Linked DNA regions of Homo sapiens: region 1 is linked to region 2. The links are contacts of gene promoters, found by promoter capture Hi-C in human tissues and cell types (Jung and others, 2019). All regions are on one chromosome and are shown on one strand. The core of a region is centred on a gene start or on the middle of the fragment in contact, and the rest is flanking DNA. Distances in the headings are between cores, read along the strand shown. Region 1 overlaps BBX (BBX high mobility group box domain containing). Region 2 holds the start of IFT57 (intraflagellar transport 57).

Region 1 (5,563 bases), core at 2,405-4,904, 420 kb before region 2:
AAAGGTAGGATTTTCAAATAAACCAAGAACACTACCTCCTACCTCTGCCACTGTGTTTATCTTTCCACCTAGTTATGGTGCCATATGCTCATGCTTTAAGCTAGAAGTTTCTAATTGCAATAATAATGATGATGATAACTAATACTTACTACCACTTTATAGTTTACAGGGGGCTTTCATATATATGTATATATTTTTTTCAATTTCATCTTAACAGCATTCCCAGTGAATTAAGGAGGGTTTATCAGCCCCGAATACATGGTAAGGAATTATGGCCTGAGCAACACAAGCAGATAGGGAAGAAACCATATCTCCATTTAAGTACATCAGCTACTACATTTTCCGTTTTTCATATTTGTAGACTTTTAACCCTCATTTGGTTCAAATATTGAAAATATAAATGGTATTTCACAACGGGGAAAAAAAAAACCCCAAAACCTAGGACTAGGAATCTCTGTTAAAATTCACTTCTTTGCAGTGTATAAATCTAATTACAGGCAGGAAAATTCTGGTTTATAGTTAGATTTTCACACACGATCCACAGTGCCCAATCTAACTCGATCTCTTTTCTTAAGTTTGAAATAGTTGCTATATAACTTCAGCAAAGTCTCCCAGGATGTTGGATAAGGCTCATTCGTTTCTTTTTCCTGTGTTCTATTCAGCATCTGACTGCTGTTTCAGCTCATGGGAGACCTACCAAAGGCAATTAGATTCCAGATCTGGCTATAATAATTTCAGTGCAAGTTTGAAACCCCAGTTGGAATGTGAATTCATGACTCTGGAGCACTCTAGTGGCCTCATGGGGTACAATACAAGAGCAATGCTGCTTTCCCAAAAAACCTACTCCACATTTTGGGATCAGATTTTGGAAAACAAGACGGTCTCTTATTGCTACATTCCTGATGTGGCTCCAGGAGTGAGCTTGCATCATCACTCTCAGATGATACGCACCAAGTGTGTTATGGTTATTGTTTGGGTGTAAAAACTAGCCCAGTGGATTTGTTCTGAAGTGTTCGGGTAGTTTTGTGTGCTCAATTAAAAGCTGGAAAAGAAATGACTAATTTGTTTTGGAGCCACAAAGCCTTTCTTTTCTTACATTTCCATTAGGTTGCGGGTTGTCGGGAGGAACTAGCTTGCTATCTTTGTACTCAACTTTTGTGCTTGTTTCCCTCTCTGAACTTTTTTCATCTCATGTCCCTCACCACCAAGCTTTTGTCTGCTTTGCCAATGTCGTTGGACTCAGATCTACTGTTTTGTTCCAGAAAATTACTTCTCGGATACAGTCCCATCTGCCTTCCCTAATTCTTCTGTCTTAGGGGAAGGGTCTCCCTGAGGGCTGATCCTGAAGGCTGTCCTCAGTCTAAACCACCAAACAAGACCATACGTTCTGGGGTTAACCCTTGGGTCAGAACATTAGTCTGGACCCTTATCCTCTTTCAAACTCTAGGAAGGTCACATTACATACCTTTTGCAAATGTGCATCATCTGCAGGGCCCATCATTGCATTTTGATGTAATAGTAGGTTTAGAGGAGACCTCTGGTTAATTGGCATTACCTTCTTTTGGGGAACTTATGAGAACCTCCGACGTAGTCTTTTTTTTTTTTTTTTTTTTTTTTTGCCTCTTCCACTTGGTCTGCAGTCTGATTCACTCCTTTACTTTCCTCCAATATACTGACCCTTGGGACTTGGGTATTGCTGGCCTGCTTTGGGCCCTCAGGCTCTTTGCCTGCTGGTTTCTGAGCTTTCCATAGTCACAGTCTGGTTTTAGGCAGAAACTGTACCTCCATTTGCAATCAACCCTTTTGCAGCTGTGCCTTACGCTTCTTACTGTGTTTTTACCAATTCATCTGGAACAAACTAGAAAAGGAACAACTATTAAGTAGAAATGAAACCATTTGAAGGCTCACCAAACAAACAAAAACAGTGCTAGTCACAGGAGTACTGTTTCCCAGCCTATGACTCTGGAGCTGACTGGTGGTTTGTTGTTGTTGTTGCCCCTGGCCAGATCTCTGATGGTAGCCTATGTAGCAAAGTTATTTTAGGGCTAGATGGCTCCTTTAAAGCTAATACAGTCCAACCTCCATCTCTGAATGAAGAAACAGAGGCCCATGGTTGGTTGGACTGCTGTTAGTAAATTTAAAAGTCAGTAGTAGAATTCTGGTCTCTCTGTGACTGTTACTTCCATTACCCCATGGTCTCTGTGTAAAAAGCAAGTCATCTTTCCCAACCGACTTGGCCTTTTTCTGGTATCCATGCCTTTTCATTGACCTCCTTGGTTCTTCTTTCCGCAGTCAGTTCTAATGTAAGATATGATACACCTTTCCATCTTTGGAACCCCACTATATACCCTTATTTCTACATGTTCTGTACTTTCCTGGGAAGGGGAAGTAGAAAAGGGAAGAGGTTAATGTTCTTTCTGGAATGTCCATCCACAATGTGGTGATTCTATTGGAGAGGTAAACAAGACTCCTGTAATCAGAAGGGACAGCTGATGGATCTGGATAAGAAATTCGAAATCTCGAAGCTTATGAATGTGCAATAGATGTTATTTAATGCTCATTGTAAATTCAGATTTTGGGCTTCTTTATACTTAAAGGAGGCTTTGAATTTTAAGGCTAAAATAGAATCATGCATCTTCTTTGGAGTGTTTCTTACCGAATTATTTTTTATTTTGCTGGAAGCTTTTATTGAAGTTTAAACTAAAAAAAAAAAACTTAAAATATGTACCACCACTGGCCTATGTTAAGCTAAATATCAAAGTATAAATATTCTAAGACTAAGTATAATAACTGAGTAAATTAATCCACCATTGAGGTAGATCTATTTGACCTGGGAATAGATCTGCAATCTAAAAGGAGTATGTTTTCTGACCTTTGATTACTTACTTGAAAAGGTGTTTGGGAGCATTGCCAAGTAGTTTTTTAAAACAACTGTTATCTTAAGCCTGTCTGCACACAGCCATCTGTTATGCAATATTGAGGTAAGGCCAAACCACAAATGATGGTGTGATTTCTGCTTTACATACTTTCTTTTGATGTAATTGAAATTATTTCCCACTTGTTTAGGAATGTGAAGCCTGGAATCAGCCTTTCTTTTGAAACATCTTTTAAAGACAAGGTGCCATGATTTCCAGGACAAATAATCTTATTAATTCATAGCCTTCTTTCTTGAGGATGTACCTAAATCCATTAAACACCTAGATTAAACATTTTAAATGAGGGCTGTGCAAGTGTTTATACCAACAAGTTCATTTTTTCACACCCTGAGTTATTCTTGCTCTAGTTTTTTTTTCCTCTTAGTTTAGCTTTTCTTCCAAATATATATATATATATATATATATATAGCTTTATTGCCAATATCTACCTTCAGATATGCCTCCTCTGGATTTAGTTTGCTTAGGGCTTGTTATGTCTGACATTAGTTTTCTGACCCACATTCTCCTTTTCTTTGTCAAAAATAATTTCTATGTCTATCCTAAGAAATTGGATAGTTAAAAATTATGAAAGTGCATCTTTTCCCGGCTTAAAAGCCCTTGGGTCACTGGAATTTCTTTAAAGTCCCAATCATAAAACTCAACTATGGTATACCCCTAAACACTTACTAAACTCATATCTACACATCTTGTCTTACTTTTAAGTTAAGGTCAGGAGGGGGTAAACTGCTAAGAAAATGAGTATGTAAGAAAAGACACAAGCTTCCCCAATCTGTGTAAACCAGGAGAAAAGTCTGTGGTACAGGTGTCTTCCTTGCTCTTGACAGAGTGACTCAGAATATAGGAGTGTGCTATCAAATGATTCATTGGGGTTACAATTAGGATACCTAAAACTAGCCTCTCCACAAGCCAGGATGACATGTGGGACTTCATTAAATTATCTCACTAAGTGTATTCCTTGTTTTAGAATTCAGTGAATGAAAGAGAGTTTCTTTCCTTGGCGTGCTGGCTTCAACAATGTTTGTCCTGTCCTTACTGCACAGTCAATCTACATGAAAGAAAGTCAGGCCTCAATTTCTTTTCTGATCAATTCAACCTGGTGCTTAAAAGCAAATGTCCCAACCATAAATATAAATTTAAGAAGGACATATTTAATTTTAGTGTCCTCTGAAGAAATTTCTTTTACCATCCTCTCTAGGCCAACTGGCCAAAAGGATCTCTCAGATAGGGACCCTGATCACAACTAGGACATAATTTACAAGAGGACATAATTTACTCAGATTTACCTAAATTATCGTCCCCACCAACGTGCAACACCCAGAGACTTAGAAAATGTAAAAAAGAGGGGGTGTCTTAATTCACTGCATTTAATTTATCAAAGCAAATATCAATTGGTAGTAAACAAGTTAGGGGCAACGTTTTATTTCATTTTTTCCATCAGTACTTTGAAAACTCTGAGTGTAAATTCTCCATTCAGACGGGTCAGAAATTTAGACATGTTTCCTTCTAAGAGCAATTTTGGTGCCTTCTGTTTTTGTGCATAACTATGCATGGTATTTCCTATTTCAGCCATATTTTCAGAAGACAGAAACACCATGGAGCCTGTTCATAAGGTTAAAAATATCCCATCCATTTTCAACACTCCAGAGCCAACAACAACGCAAGAACCTTTGGTGGGCAGCCAAAAGAGAAAAGCAAGGAAAACCAAGATTACACACCTTGTCAGGACAGCAGATGGCCGGGTATCACCAGCAGGAGGTACTTTGGGTAAGAAGAGAGAGCTTTAGACCAGAGGTGTCCAATCTTTTAGCTTCCCTGGGCCACACTGGAAGAAGAATTGTCTTGAGCCACAATGAAATACACTAACAATAGCCAATGAGCTAAAAAAAAAAAAAAACAAAAACAAAAAAAACCAGGCCAGGCGCGGTGGCTCACGTCTGTAATCCCAACGCTTTAGGAGGCTGAGGTGGGTGGATCATGAGGTCAGGAGATCGAGACCATCCTGGCTAACACTGTGAAACCCCATCTCTACTAAAAATACAAAAAATTAGCCGGGCCTGGTGGTGGGTGCCTGTAGTCCCAGCTGCTTGGGAGGCTGAGGCAGGAGAATGGCGTGAACCCGAGAGTCGGAGGTTGCAGTGAGCCGAGATCGCGCCACTGCACTCCAGCCTGGGCGACAGAGTGAGACTCTGTCTCAAAAAAAAAAACAACAACAACAAACACAAAAAAATCTCAGAATGTTTTAAGAAAGTTTACGAATTTGTGTTGGGCTGCATTCAAAGCTGTCCCCAGCCACATGCAGCCTGCAGGCCATGGGTTGGACAAGCTTGCTTTAGACAGAGATAACCAGAGCAAGCAGATGACCACCATGTCAGCAAATGACTGTAAGCAACTGTGGTTCCTACTGAAAAATGAGTCTATTCTGCAGCTTTCTACAGACCTCCAAACATGTTTTATTCCATGTTTAAAATCATAGCTAGTTTTCCAAGAGCATATCTGAATTCCTAGAAAAGAAAGGTAGTTTTTAGGACTGTCATCTTCCCTTTATCTTTCTCAATGTGCACAAAAGCAATCTTAATTCCAGGAGATCCTATACTTTTAAAGATACTAGATGAATCAGTATTTGACCA
Region 2 (5,455 bases), core at 1,367-3,866:
ACCTTACACCCAGGAAATGTAGTGCATGTTAGAGCACAGAGCATGTAGAATTTTTGCCAAAATGATTTAAGTGTCAGTAATAATATGTAAGTACCTTATGAATGAAAATGGTAATCTGGAAGAACCTCAGAGTTTAAAAAAGACCTCAACGATTACTCATTATGCATTTTTACTGTTTCTAACCTATCACCTATGGTGAACATTTGTTTCTATGTTGGCTGCATATTCAATCACCTGAGGAGCTAATAAAAATACTGGTACTTGACCAAACATTGCTTCTTCCCTCATGAATGAATTAAATCAGAACTTCAGTGAAAGTAGGCCCAGTATGGGGTATATTTCAAAAGATTTCTACATGTTTATAAGGTGTAGTCAGGATTAAGAACCTGTGAATGTCACATCACCAGTCAAACATCTGTGGGCTCTTGCTTAATCCCCTAGTCTACTAAACACAGTTCTACGAGGATCAGTATGATTTATACCTAAACATTATAGGAATAAAACTCACTAGCAACAACATTCAAGTCAGTTTAATCAAAGATCTTATTTGTCTTGTTCATGTGTAGCTATCATTATTATGTTTACAATGTATTTACAACTATTATAACCATTGTCATAAAAATCTGTCGTGTACTCCTTCATGTTTCCCAAACTTTTTCCTGCAGGATAAATGTAAATGTTCTGGAAGATAACAGAAAGCTGGGAAGAAAAAAGGCCATGAAGTCCTTCCAGGTATATGCTCACTATCCTTTCAAAGCACCCACCCACCAAAAAGTCATCTTTTCCTTATCGGCAGATAACTCTTCTAGGGCAGAGGAATGAACACCAATAGATACTGTAAACCTAGGACAGTGGTTCCCAAACATTAGTGTCCATCAGAATCATCTGGAAGGCTTACTGAAACAGATGCTAGGCCCCATCCCTATAATTACTGAAAAGGTAGACCTGGGAAAGGGCCTGAGGAATTTCATTTCTAGTAAGTTCCCAGGTGATGCTGATGCTGTTGGTCTGGTGATCACATTTTGAGAACCATTGGACTAGGATATCCCCACACAAATCCATGATTCAAAGTATCCTGCTGAACCCCTGAGGACACAGTGCAAGAGATGACATCAACAGAACCTTAAGGACATTTTGTTTTCATTTTAAAAATATACTTGGAAAAAAATGCATTTTTATTAACATAGGAAATGTTGGTTGTCTATATTATCCTGATCAATTCACTTTAAGTAATAATCCCAGGACTACCTTTTCTAACATGGATCAAGCAACACTACTTTTTCCTTTATCTTTTCTCCGACCATGGACTAATTTAATATGAACAGTTTATATCAAGCCTACATATCTTTCAATTCAAGTTATTGGAAGACAGCAGTGGAATGAGATTAAAACTATCAAGGGAAATTATTTGAGCCTGGCTGTAGACATTAAGTACTATAGATTCTTAATACTGATTGCCTTTTATGGAATAAAATATACAAATGTAAGTATTAAAGTGAAAGAAAAGCTATAAAACTGATTTATCTGGCTACTGCTAAGCTACAGTGATTTGAGGAGAAGGTCCTAGCTGACCACTACCCTCAGCAAGTAATGGCATTGCTTTCAGGATATGTTGGACTTTTCCCCCACCGGAACAAGGGTAAAACTTTAGGTTCTATGATAGGGGGACAATTCAATAGTTGTCATTCGTCTTTTCCACTTTTCAGTTTCTGAGAGTATGGTTATTACAAAGGCAGAAGTCTTTTAAACCATAGCAAGTAGTTAACAAGTTTACTAACCGCATTTAAAGTGCTCCTTAACAGGATCCTAAGTACCCACGGTCCCCAGTTGTATGAACAGGGTCTTAAACAACAACAAAAAACCCCAAACTAGAAAAAAAGCCTTAAGTGATAATGGCATTCCTCTCTGGAGGCGAATTTTGGACGGTCTTATAATTTTTCTAGACATTTACTTGTGTTTTTCTGAGTTTTCTTCAATGAGTATTTGTTTCATCTTTACAATCAGAAAATATAGTTTGTGTTTTCTGGTAATGCGTGTGTGTTGGAAAAAAACAGGCAAGCTGTCTTCCGATCCTTTCTGCCGTTCCAAAACTTATTTATTCTCTCTACAAAAATACCAAGTCAGGGCTGCGTGAGCTCCACGGACCTCCCGGGAGTTTGGGGTGAAGTGCCCTTCCCTGGCTAGGAAGACGGAGGCAAGGAATTGCTAACCCGCTCTCACGAAACTGGTTCCCAGCAGGACCAAGGAGGGCATCTCCCTGGGGGCTAGCAGGCACCCGGGCGCTCGGGGACGCCGGCACCCACCTGGACGGGGCCTTCAGGTTGCTCTTCCGGAGGAACTCCTCCTCGTAGCGGAGCAGCTTCAGCTTCTCCACCAAGTCCTCCATCACCACGAACATGTGGTAGGCCGCGCCGGGCCCCCGCTCCAAGACCACTTCCCCGGTCCCTTCGCCACGGGACCTAGGCACCCCATCTTCCAAACCCGACGTCGTGACGACGGCCAGAGCAGCAGTCATCGCAGAACGGACAGAGTCCAGCGTGGGCTCAGGCCCACAGACCTCTGCGGCCTAAGCCGCCAGCCCTGCCGCCGCCAGTACAGCCACGACCGGTTACCAGGCGACCACCGGACAATCCGTCACCAGGGAAACTAGACTCCGCCTCCTTCCCTCCAATCAGGGCGGCTTTCCTGAATGACGTCACCTGTGGCCCTCTTCTTGCCCTGCCTCTGTGGAAATGGTGGTCGGGAAGCAGCCCCGCCCCTCATGGAGGCGTGGCGTTCGCGCCCCACTGCCGGCTGCGTCTTCTCCCTCGCTGAAAGTCTGAAGGGAGCCGGCTTACGTTTCTGCTCCGCTTGCCTAGTGAGTCTTGAGCTGGCTTGAGGTGTGTTGGACCTGGTGGTTGCTAAAAGCAATTAAGCGGGCATCTGGGTCAGCTAGTAGCTGTTAAAAAGATTAAAGGGAGGTGAAGACGTGTAGCACTGAAGGCTGCACTGGCTCACTGATACCTTTATTTTCTCAGAATTGAAAAGTTTTTCATAGTTGTAAAGATAGTCAATACCATAGGTTTCACTTTTACTGCAGGAACTTTCCAACGAGAGGTTTCTCTCGTTCTTTCTTTAATTTTATCTTTCTCTCACTAGGCAATGCTGCACTTAACAGTATATTGTAAAGCTTGAAGTACTGTATTACGTTGCCTGGCTGTTACTCCAGTGCTAGGAAAGTGGTTGGAAGGATGAGGAAGACAATGAACAAAAGGAGGCATTTGGAAGGATTTGTTTTACTTCAAAAACAAGAATACTAAGCTTCCATCCTGCTGCTTAATCTGTTTCAAACCCATTACATGTAGTATAAAGTGTTTGGGTACTTCGTTAAATCCAACAGAATAGAGATGGTCTTAAAAGGAATTTCCCTGCCCTAAAGCTCTAAGGGTGGCTAAAGATAGGGTGTTACTACTGTATTCTGCAGTTATTGACCTAGAAAATTTAAGAAAAGGTACATAACTGACCACAGAAATGGCCCAGCTTTACAGTTTTCAAAAGGCTTCTGTATTAGGCAATTTTCTTAACAGTTGCAAAAAATGAGGTAAGTGGTGGATGCCTGGCAGTTTTTGGGAAGAAAACTTAGTACAAGAGATTGAACATATGTTCATGTTTATAACGTGACTTTTAAGGGCTCTCTGATCTCTTGTATCTGCCACTACAAAATATAGAAGGGCTACATTTTTGGACAACTGAAATTTGAAATGTATCTACAATATCCTGTTTTTATTAGAAAAAATGAGAACACTTTTCATTGTAATCCGTCTACAGCTAACTTGTTTCTGATACTAATAAGGTTATCAAAGTGAAAAGTCAGAAGGGCAAATACCATTTTTTCATTAAAGAAAGGAAGTACATAAAATTACAGACTTATGTAGAGAATAACCTGAAGGGCAGCCCACTGAGAATTGCTTTTTAAATAAATAACATTGCTTGCCTACCACAAGTCATGAGCCAGCTGCTTTTAATAAAGTTGAGTGAGAAAATTGGATTTGATGTTACCCCACTACCAAATTGATCTTTCCTGGTCTTTGCCTTTTTGAAACAGTGATTCTCCCCGATAAGTCCATACCCCAACCACCACCACATGTGCAGCTTGGGGGTGTTATATGTATGTATAACAGTCACAGTAGTGTAAGATAGATGTATGGCTTTATAAGACTGAAAAATGAAAGCTTAGATATGTTTTGGGGTCCTAAGTTAACTAACAAGCAAACTGGGGCTTTTTACATGACTCTGAAAAAGCTCTCAGACTTTGGAAGTAAATTTATTACACTCAGGGAGGGAGATGTTCCTGCCAGGCATGCTGCCTACTTAAGATGTTCTGACATTTTCAGGAAGTTACGTAACACAGTATGAAATAGTCAAACGTTGCTTTTTAGCTGATAAATCCTCCAGCAACGTATGTATTTTAACTTGGGGGAAACAAAACGACTCCCAGGGTCTTAGCCATTTCCTTCCCAGGTAAAATACTGACACAGCCTGGCCTGAAAGCAGTATACAGAATAATTTCCCCCCTTAATTGTGAAGAAGAAAAAAACCCAAAAATATAAAGTATTTCCAGTAATTGTGGCACAAAGAGAACAAAAAAGCTAACTGTTCAATACTGCATGTTTCCCCAATAAAAAGTTTTAGAAAGAACACTGAAATTTCATTGTTTTGTAAAGCCCAGGGATTATTTTTGCTGATTCCTTGTTTACCTGTAATAGTTTGTAACACATCAAAAGATCTTTTCCTTGATAGTTTTCTTCGTGTGTGTGAAAATGCACTCAAATCCTCTTCTAGCTGTTTCAGCCACTTGGAAACTTTGGGGAATACAGTTGTATCAGGTTTTTTTTTGTTGTTTTGGTTTGCAGGACTAGTTTATTTGTTGACTAAGGAGTTAGAGCTTGAAGAGAATGAGCCATGTTCATTCTTCCTGTAAAATCTCAATTTCATCCCTGGTTTTACTGTATTCGCCACTATTAATAGCTGGCCTTCTGACTTTGACTTTTATTTCTTTCAAACTATCTGTGAGGTAATTGAAAGTAACTTTTTTTTTTTTTTTTTTTGAGACGGAGTCTTGCCCTGTCACCAGGCTGGAGTGTAATGGCACGATATTGGCTCACTGCAACCTCCGCCTCCTGGATTTAAGCGGTTCCCCTGCCTCAGCTTTTTAAAACTCGTGGATCTTTCTGTGAAACTCTGAAAACTAAATAGCATTCCAGGCCGGGCACGGTAGCTCATGCCTGTAATCCCAGCACTTTGGGAGGCTGAGGCAGGCGGATCATTTGAGGTCAGGAGTTCGAAACCAGCCTGGCCAACATGGTGAAACCCCCGTCTCTACTAAAAATACAAAAATTAGCCAGGCGTGGTGATGGGCGCCTGTAATCCCAGCTACTCAGGAGACTGAGGCAGGAGAATTGCTTGAACCCAGGAG

What was found. Contacts are between HindIII fragments. The study calls those that stand out against the background at their distance.
Region 1: a fragment that was not itself captured here is called in contact with the fragment with the promoter of IFT57 in region 2 in 2 of the 25 tissues and cell types used here (dorsolateral prefrontal cortex and hippocampus).

What each region holds. Positions count from the first base shown.
Region 1 is chr3:107,794,021-107,799,583 of GRCh38, forward strand. BBX (BBX high mobility group box domain containing) reads left to right here. Exons shown (of 18, transcript NM_001142568.3): 16 at 4,503-4,700. Among named protein-coding and RNA genes, the nearest start is that of LINC00635, 81 kb to the right of the region's middle. The HindIII fragment of the contact is 3,574 bases long and covers 1,868-5,441 here.
Region 2 is chr3:108,219,808-108,225,262 of GRCh38, forward strand. IFT57 (intraflagellar transport 57) reads right to left here and starts at 2,617. Exons shown (of 11, transcript NM_018010.4): 1 at 2,304-2,617. The coding sequence starts at 2,515. LOC124909405 (a long non-coding RNA gene) reads left to right here and starts at 2,798. Exons shown (of 2, transcript XR_007095999.1): 1 at 2,798-2,879; 2 at 3,139-4,677. RefSeq lists an enhancer at 2,336-2,595 and a silencer at 2,531-2,824. The HindIII fragment of the contact is 10,407 bases long and covers 1-3,755 here.